Linked DNA regions of Homo sapiens: regions 2 and 3 are each linked to region 1. The links are contacts of gene promoters, found by promoter capture Hi-C in human tissues and cell types (Jung and others, 2019). All regions are on one chromosome and are shown on one strand. The core of a region is centred on a gene start or on the middle of the fragment in contact, and the rest is flanking DNA. Distances in the headings are between cores, read along the strand shown.

Evidence for each region. The method cuts DNA at HindIII sites, captures the fragments that hold promoters and counts their contacts. A contact is called where the count stands out against the background at its distance.
Region 2: a fragment that was not itself captured here is called in contact with the fragment with the promoter of CEP97 in region 1 in 1 of the 25 tissues and cell types used here (lymphoblastoid cells).
Region 3: a contact is called between a fragment that was not itself captured here and the fragment with the promoter of CEP97 in region 1, in 1 of the 25 tissues and cell types used here (lymphoblastoid cells).

The regions. Positions count from the first base shown.
Region 1 is chr3:101,723,064-101,725,973 of GRCh38, forward strand. CEP97 (centrosomal protein 97) reads left to right here and starts at 1,551. Exons shown (of 11, transcript NM_024548.4): 1 at 1,551-1,656. The coding sequence starts at 1,614. RefSeq lists enhancers at 1,527-1,896, 2,177-2,246, 2,418-2,910. The HindIII fragment of the contact is 12,301 bases long and covers 1-2,910 here.
Region 2 is chr3:102,107,036-102,109,945 of GRCh38, forward strand. No RefSeq gene overlaps it. Among named protein-coding and RNA genes, the nearest start is that of RDUR, 170 kb to the left of the region's middle. The HindIII fragment of the contact is 5,825 bases long and covers 1-2,910 here.
Region 3 is chr3:102,039,592-102,042,501 of GRCh38, forward strand. No RefSeq gene overlaps it. Among named protein-coding and RNA genes, the nearest start is that of RDUR, 100 kb to the left of the region's middle. The HindIII fragment of the contact is 3,296 bases long and covers 1-2,910 here.

The DNA of each region.
Region 1 (2,910 bases), core at 301-2,800:
TATATAATATATAATATATAAATCTATAACATATATAATATATAATATATAACATATATAATATATAATATATAATATATATAACATATATAATATATAATATATAACATATATAACACATATAATATATAAATATATAACATATATAATATATAACATATAACATATATAATATATAAATATATAACATATATAATATATAATATATAAATATATAACATATATAATATATAATATATAAATATATAACATATATAATATATAATATATAAATATATAACATATATAATATATAATATATAAATATATAACATATATAATATATAAATGTATAACATATATAATATATAAATATATAACATATAACATATATATCTAAATATATAACATATATAATATATAATATCTAAATATATAACATATATAATATATAATATCTAAATATATGACATATATAATATATAATATCTAAATATATAACATATATAATATATAATATATAAATATATGACATATATAATATATCTAAATATATAACATATATAATATATAATATCTAAATATATAACATATATAATATATAATATCTAAATATATAACATATAATATATAATATCTAAATATATAACATATATAATATATAATTTATATATAATTATAATATATGCAATATCTATATAAAATATATATATTTTTGAGACATAGTTTCGCTCTTGTTGCCCAGGCTGGAGTGCAGTGGCATGATATCGGCTCACTGCAACCTCTGCCTCCCGGGTTCAAGCGATTCTCCTGCCTCAGCCTCCCGAGTACCTGGGATTACAGGCATGCGCCGCCACGCCAGGCTAATTTTTTTGTATTTTTACTACAGACGGGGTTTCTCCATGTTGGCCAGGCGGGTCTCGAATTCCCGACCTCAGGTGATCAGCCTGCGTTGACCTCCCAAAGTGCTGGGATTACAGACGTGAACCACTGCGCCCGGCCTGGAGATTATATTTTAAAGTTATTTTGAATACTCCCTGGAAAAGTTCTTGGTTCATACTTATACCCGTAAGTCAAAAGATTTGTCAAATATTCAAGAACAATCAAACAATCACTTAAAAATACTGTATAAAAGTTTCTATTTCGGCATACTTTACTTTTACTTAACTAAAATTTCAAATAAAATGTATCCACTTTTATGATCTCAACAAGATCGGTCATTCCTATAGCGGAGTTGAAAACTTTCAACTTATTCACAATTATCAAAAGAATGGAGCAGCCCCCACAGAGACTTCCAGCAATGAGTTGTAAAATGCAGTCTGCATTAAGTAGCTTCCTTACAATCATCCCGATGGTAAAAGTGTCAAATTTCGCAAACGCCTGGACAAGGAAGTGAAATGATCATCTAATAACGCAGTTGACTCATCTGTCAAATAAGCGAGTGGGCCAGGGTCCCTGAGCTCACTACCCTCAGATTCTAACTCCAGCTTCACATCATTAGGCGTAAGCAGCCAATTGGGCCGTCTGGGAGCCGTGCATCCTGGGAGTTATAGTTTCCGGCTCCCTCCTTCAGATTACAAGCTCCACAGAGCCGCGGGAGGACGGTTGCCTGGTATTATTAGCAAGCAGCAAATATGGCGGTGGCGCGCGTGGACGCGGCTTTGCCTCCCGGAGAAGGTAAGGCGATCCCTACCCCGAGTCCTAAGGTTTACTTCACGGAGCTGAATTAAATAGTGGAGAGCAGAAAACCTAGGTTTAGATGTGCAGTTCTGGACCAGTTCTTTTGATGCGGATCTGTGGTCGTCGCGGAGGCGGGCTACCCTCTGGGAGTTGTAGTTCACCTGCCGTTCCCAGCTCTCCGGCGTCGCGGTGAGGGCCGAGCGGGGGACTACAGCCCCCAGAAGCCTTCGCGCGGCCCGGCGCCCTGGCTCCCGCGCTCCCGATGCTGAGGAGGCGGTGGATTTCGGGCTGCGATGACCTTTCTTGACCATTTACTTTGAGTCATGGGTGCCTAAGCGAAATGTTTGGGATCTCCCTCTTTCGCTTCACACATCTCCCTCTCTTCTTGGTTCCTGGAACCATCAGGAAAACCTTCCCTCAGAGACCGCTGCCTAGTCTGGCTTTGAACCCTTCCTCGGAGGTGGCCAGTGGCCGTGATAAAATCTAAGGGATGATCCAGAGCCCGCAGTTCTGTACTCCTTGTTCTTGCACACGGGTCCTAGGATCGAGTTTGGTCGCTGCCCAGTAGAGCACAGGACTGTGTGGGTGCTTCTGTGGCCTGAAGATACCTACCTCTTTGGGGCGCCGGACGCGAGCTGCTTTTGTTTTGGTTACAGCTCCGAGGCTTGGCAGCAGTCAGTCCTCTAAATCGGGGACAGGGCCCAGGGGTCGAGGCCCGTCTTCATGGCTTAGACCAGGAGTGCATTTTCTGGGAGCTGTAAATTCTTGGGGGAAGAGTTGGTGGATGGTTCTCAGACCTCTCTGTCGACCCCTTGGAATTGTGTACAAAGGCTGTGCACTTTTCTGAGACAGCACACCCCTTTCATCAATTTTTCAGAGGGGCTCACGACTCCTCACATGCTAAGAGCCATTAGACAACGGGAAAACGTTGAAATCCTCCAGGAGAGCAATCTGGCATAATTATTTCCTGCAGTAGTCCTAATCTGGGTGTAAATTTGAAATTGGCCGTTTCTCTGGCCCCGCCCTCTTTGGAGATCGGCTTTTCTTAAACCACACCTCTCAAGCCCACCAGGGCTACTTAACTGTTAATAGCAGTTAACATTTACAGAGCACTTTGTATGACCCAGGCGATGTTCTCAGTCCTTTTTTTTTTTGTTTTTTTTTTTACATTATCTCATTTTCTCTGTAGAACTACATTTATAAGGCAGGTATTATCCCCACTTTACAGAGTAGAAAAGGGAGCCCAAAAGA
Region 2 (2,910 bases), core at 180-2,679, 380 kb after region 1:
AGCGGAACTTTCAAAATAGGAGTCAATCATATCGAACTTTATCAACGACATTTATGTCTTATCTAAATCCTTTGCTGTCATTTCAACAATGTTCATAGGATCTTCATCAGGAGTAGATACCATTTAAAGAAACTACTTTCTTTGCTCATCCATAAGAAGGAACTCTTCACCCAGTCAAGTTTTATCATAAAATTGCAGCAATTAAATCACATCTTCAGGCTTCACTTCTAATTCTAGTTCTCTTACTATTTCTACCAACTCTGCAGTTACTTCCTCCACTGAATTTTTGGACCCCTTCAAAGTCATCCAGGAGGGCTAGAATGAACTTCTTCTAAACTCCCATTAATGTTGTTATTTTGACTTCTTCCCATGAATCATAAGTGTTGTTAATGGCATCTAGAATAGTGAATCCTTCCCAGAAGGTTTTCAGTTGACTTTGCCCAGGTCCATTAACAGAATCATCTATAGCAGCTATAGCCCTGTGAAATGTATTTCTAAAATAATATTACTTGAAAGTTGAAATTACTCCTTGATCCATGGGCTGCAGAATGGTTAGCAGGCATAAAAACATTAGTCTTGCACACTTTCATCAAGCTCTTGAGTGACTAGAAGAGCCTTGTCAATAAGCAATTATATTTTAAAATGAATCTTTTTTTTCTGAGCAGTAGGTCTCAACAGTGGGCTTAAAATATTCAGTAAACCCTGCTGTAAACAGTTGTGCTGTCATCCACGCTTTGTTGCTTCATTGATAGAGCACAGGCAGAGAAAATTAGCATAATTCTTAAAGGCCCTAGGATATTTCGGAATAGTAAATGAATCTTGGCTTCAAATTAAAGTCACCAGCTGCATTAGCTCCTAACAAGAGAGTCAGATTATTATTCTTTGAAACTTTGAAGCCAGGCATTTACTTCTGTTTAGCTATTAACAGCCTAGATGACATCTTCTTCCAATAGAAGGCTGTTTCATCTGCATTGAAAATCTGTTGTTTAGTGTAGCTACCTTTAGCAATGATTTTAGCTAGGTCTTCTGGATAACATGCTGCAGTTTTTCCACCAGCACTTGCTGCTTTACCTTGCACTTTTAAGTTAAGGAGACAACTTCTTTCCTTAAACCTCATGAACCAACCTCTGCTAGGTTCCAACTTTTCTTTTGTAGCTTCCTCACCTCTTTCTCAGCCTTCTTATAATTGAAGACAGTTAAGGCCTTACCCTGGATTAGGCTTTAGTTTAAGAGAATGTGGTGGCTGGTTTGATCTTGTATCCAGACCTCTAAAACTTTCTCCATATCAGCAATAGCACTCTTTTGCTTTCTTATCATTTGTGTGTTCATTAGAGTAGCATTATACATTTCCTTCAAGAACTTTTTATTTGCATTCACAACTTGGTTAACTGTTTGGCATAGGAGGCCTAGCTTTTGGCCAATCTCAGCTTTTGACACGCCTTTCTAACTAAGCTTAATCATTTCTATTAATAGCTTTTGATTTAAGTGAGGGATGTGAGACTCTTCCTTTCATTTGAATAGCTTAGAGGTCATTGCAGGGTTAATAATTGGCCTAATTTCCATATTATTGTATCTTAGGGTATAGGGAGGCCTGAGAAGATGGAAAGAAACAGAGAATCAGCTGGTTGGTGGACCAGTCAGAGCACACACATTTAATGAGTTCACCGTTTTATACAGGTGCAGTTTGTGGCACCCCAAAACAATAACAATAACAATTGTAAAATCAAAGATCACTGATCACAGATCACCATAAAAGATATAATAATAATAAAAACATTTGAAATATTGAGAGAATTACCAAAATGTGACACACAGACACAAAGTGAGCACATGCTGTTGGAAAGATGGTGCCAATAGACTTGCTCCACACTGGGTTGCCACAAACCTTCAATTTATAAAAAAACCCGCTATCTGCAGAGTAGAAAAAAGCAAAGTATAATAAATTAAGATATACCTGTATTTGTCTTTCTGTGCCTGGCTTATTTCACTTAATATAATGTCCTCTGATTTCATTCATGTTGTCACAAATGACAGGATTTTCTTCTGTTTTAAGGTTGACTAGTATTCCATTGTTTGTACCTCATTTTCTTCATCCATTCATCCCTTGATGGACACCTAGGTTGACTTCATGTCTTGGCTATTGTGAATAATGCTGCAATAAACATGGAAGTATGGCTGTCTCTTTGACATACTGATTTTATTTCCTTTACATATATACCTAGAAGTGGGATTGCTGGATCACAGGATAATTCTCTATTTAACTTTTTGAGGACGCTTCATACTGTTTTCCGTAGTGGCTGTACTAATTTACATTACCACTACAGCGTGCAAGTGTTCCCTTTCCTCCACATCCTCATCAACACTTATCTTTTGTCTTTTTGATAATAGCCATTCTAACAGGTATGAAGTGATATCTTATTGTGGTTTTAATTTGCATTTGTCTGATGGTTAGTGATGCTGAGCATTTTTTTCATATGCCTATTGGCCATTTGTGTGCCTTGTTTTGAGAAATATCTATTCAGATTCTTTTCTCATTTATTAAATGGTTTGTTTTCTTACTATTGAGTTTGTCTGAGTTTCTTATATATTTTGCATATTAACTCCCTATCGGATATATGGTTTGCAAGTAGCTTTTCCCATGACATAAATATTTTTGTACTTGAACTTAGCAAAAGTTAGACCAATATAAAAAGGCATTATTATTAAATGGGTACACAAATTTTACCACCACCATCTTGAGAAATATATAATGAGAAGATTTTAAGTGTTAATTTAAAATGTTTGTTTCTTAAGAATTACATGGTAATAATAATAGTAAGAATAATAGTAAGAATAGTAAGAATTACATGGCAATAATCATGATAATAACAACCATTTATTAAGTAATTGTAATTACTTTGCATTAGGTAT
Region 3 (2,910 bases), core at 268-2,767, 320 kb after region 1:
TTCAGTTGACATTTGTTGAAATTATTTTACTATTGTCTACTTCATGTTTTCAGTCTGGCACAGAGGAATCACAGTATAAACACAATGTAGATTATATGTACAACTGAACAACAGATGTTAGGTAAACTTGTATTTTCAACATTCCATAAAGTTATCCTGAGATAACCATTTTTTAAAAATTAAAATTATTATAGTATGTAGTCTATTCACTTGTGACATAAAGAGCTAGTGCTCACCAAACATTGTATGTGTTTCCATTTATTTTCTAGCCTCTTTTGCCTTTCAGTTGGGGCCACATGCCTAGTTCTGGCCAGTGAATAATAAGTGGAAGAGGGGGCGGTTCCAAGATGGCCAAGTAGGAACAGTTCCAGTCTACAGCTCCCAGCACGAGCAATGCAGAAGACAGATGATTTCTGCATTTCCAACTGAGGTACCAGGTTCATCTCACTGGGGATTGTCAGACAGTGGGTGCAGGACAGTGGGTGCAGTGCACCAAGTGTGAGCCGAAGCAGTGTGAGGCATTGCCTCACCCGGGAAGCACAAGGGGTCAGGGAATTCCCTTTCCTAGCCAAGAAAAGGGGTGACAGACGGCACCTGGAAAATCAGGTCACTCCCACCCATATACTGCACTTTTCCGATGGTCTTAGCAAATGGCACACCAGGAGATTATATCCCGCACCTAGCTTGGAGGGTCCTATGGCCACGAAGCCTCGCTTGTTGCTAGCACAGCAGTCTGAGATCAAACTACAAGGCGGCAGTGAGGCTGGGGGAGGGGAACACGCCATTGCTGAGGCTTGAGCAGGTAAACAAAGTGGCCAGGAAGCTTGAACTGGGTGGAGCCCACCGCAGCTCAAGGAGGCCTGCTTGCCTCTGCAGACTCCACCTCTGGGGGCAGGGCATAGCCAAACAAAAGGCAGCAGAAACCTCTGCAGACTTAAATGTCCCTGTCTGACAGCTTGGAAGACAGTAGTGGTTCTCCCAGCATGCAGCTTGAGATCTGAGAATGGACAGACTGCCTCCTCAAGTGGGTCCCTGACTCCTGAGTAGCCTAACTGGGAGGCACTCCCCAGTAGGGGCAGACTGACACCTCACATGGCTGGGTACCTCTCTGAGACAAAACTTCCAGAGGAACGATCAGCCAGCAACATTTGCTGTTCACCAATATTCACTGATCTGCAGCCTCCACTGCTGATACCCAGGCAAACAGGGTCTGGAGTGGACCTCTAGCAAACTCCAATGGACCTGCAACTGAGGTTTCTGACTGTTAGAAGGAAAACTAACCAACAGAGAGGACATCCACACCAAAACCCCATCTGTACATCACCATCATCAAAGACCAAAGGTAGATAAAACCACAAAGATGGGGAAAAAACAGAGCAGAAAAACTGAAAATTGTAAAAATCAGAGCACCTCTCCTCCTCCAAAGGAACGCAGCTCCTCACCAGCAATGGAACAAAGCTGGATGGAGAGTGACTTTGACGAGTTGAGAGAAGAAGGCTTTAGATGATCAAACTACTCTGAGCTAAAGGAGGAAGTTCGAACTCATTGCAAAGAAGTTAAAAACCTTGAAAAAAAATTAGACGAATGGCTAACTAGAATAACCAATGCAGATAATTCCTTAAAGGTCCTGATGGAGCTGAAAACCATGGCACGAGAAATACATGATGAATGCACAAGCCTCAGTAGCCGATTCGATCAACTGGAAGAAAGGATATCAGTGATGGAAGATGAAATGAATGAAATGAAGCAAGAAGAGAAGTTTAGAGAAAAAAGAATAAAAAGAAATCAACAAAGCCTCCAAGAAATATGGGACTATGTGAAAAGAGCAAATCTACGTCAGATTGGTGTACGTGAAAGTGACAGGGAGAATGGAACAAAGTTGGAAAACAGTCTGCAGGATATTATCCAGGAGAACTTCCCCAATCTAGCAAGGCAGGCCAACATTCAAATTTAGGAAATACAGAGAATGCCACAAAGATACTCCTTGAGAAGAGCAACTCCAAGACACATAATTGTCAGATTCACCAAGGTTGAAATGAAGGAAAAAATGTTAAGTGCAGCCAGAGAGAAAGGTCAGGTTACCCACAAAGGGAAGCCCATCAGACTAACAGCTGATCTCTTAGCAGAAACTCTACAAGCCAGAAGAGAGTGGGGGCCAATATTCAACATTCTTAAAGGAAAGAATTTTGAAGCCAGAATTTCATATCCAGCCAAACTAAGCTTCATAAGTGAAGGAGAAATAAAATCCTTTACAGACAAGCAAATGCTGAGAGATTTTGTCACCACCAGGCTTGCCCTAAAAGAGCTCCTGAAGGAAGCACTAAACATGGAAAGGAACAACCAGCAAAAGCCACTGCAAAAACATGCCAAATTGTAAAGACCATCAAGGCTAGGAAGAAACTGCATCAACTAATGAGCAAAATAACCAGCTAACATCATAATGACAGGATCAAATTCACACATAACAATATTAACCTTAAATGTAAATGGGCTAAATGCTCCAATTAAAAGACACAGACTGGCAAATTGGTTAAAAAGTCAAGACCCATCAGTGCGCTGTATCCAGGAAACCCATCTCACATGCAGAGACCCACGTAGGCTCAAAATAAAGGGATGGAGGAAGATCTACCAAGCAAATGGAAAACAAAAAAAGGCAGGTGTTGCAATCCTAGTCTCTGATAAAACAGACTTTAAACCAACAAAGATCAAAAGAGACAAAGAAGGCCATTACATAATGGAAAAGGGATCAATTCAACAAGAAGAGCTAACTATCCTAAATATGTATGCACCCAATATAGGAGCACCCAGATTCATAAAGCAAGTCCTTAGTGACCTACAAAGAGACTTAGACTCCCACACAATAATAATGGGAGACTTTAACACCCCGCTGTCAACATTAGACAGATCAAA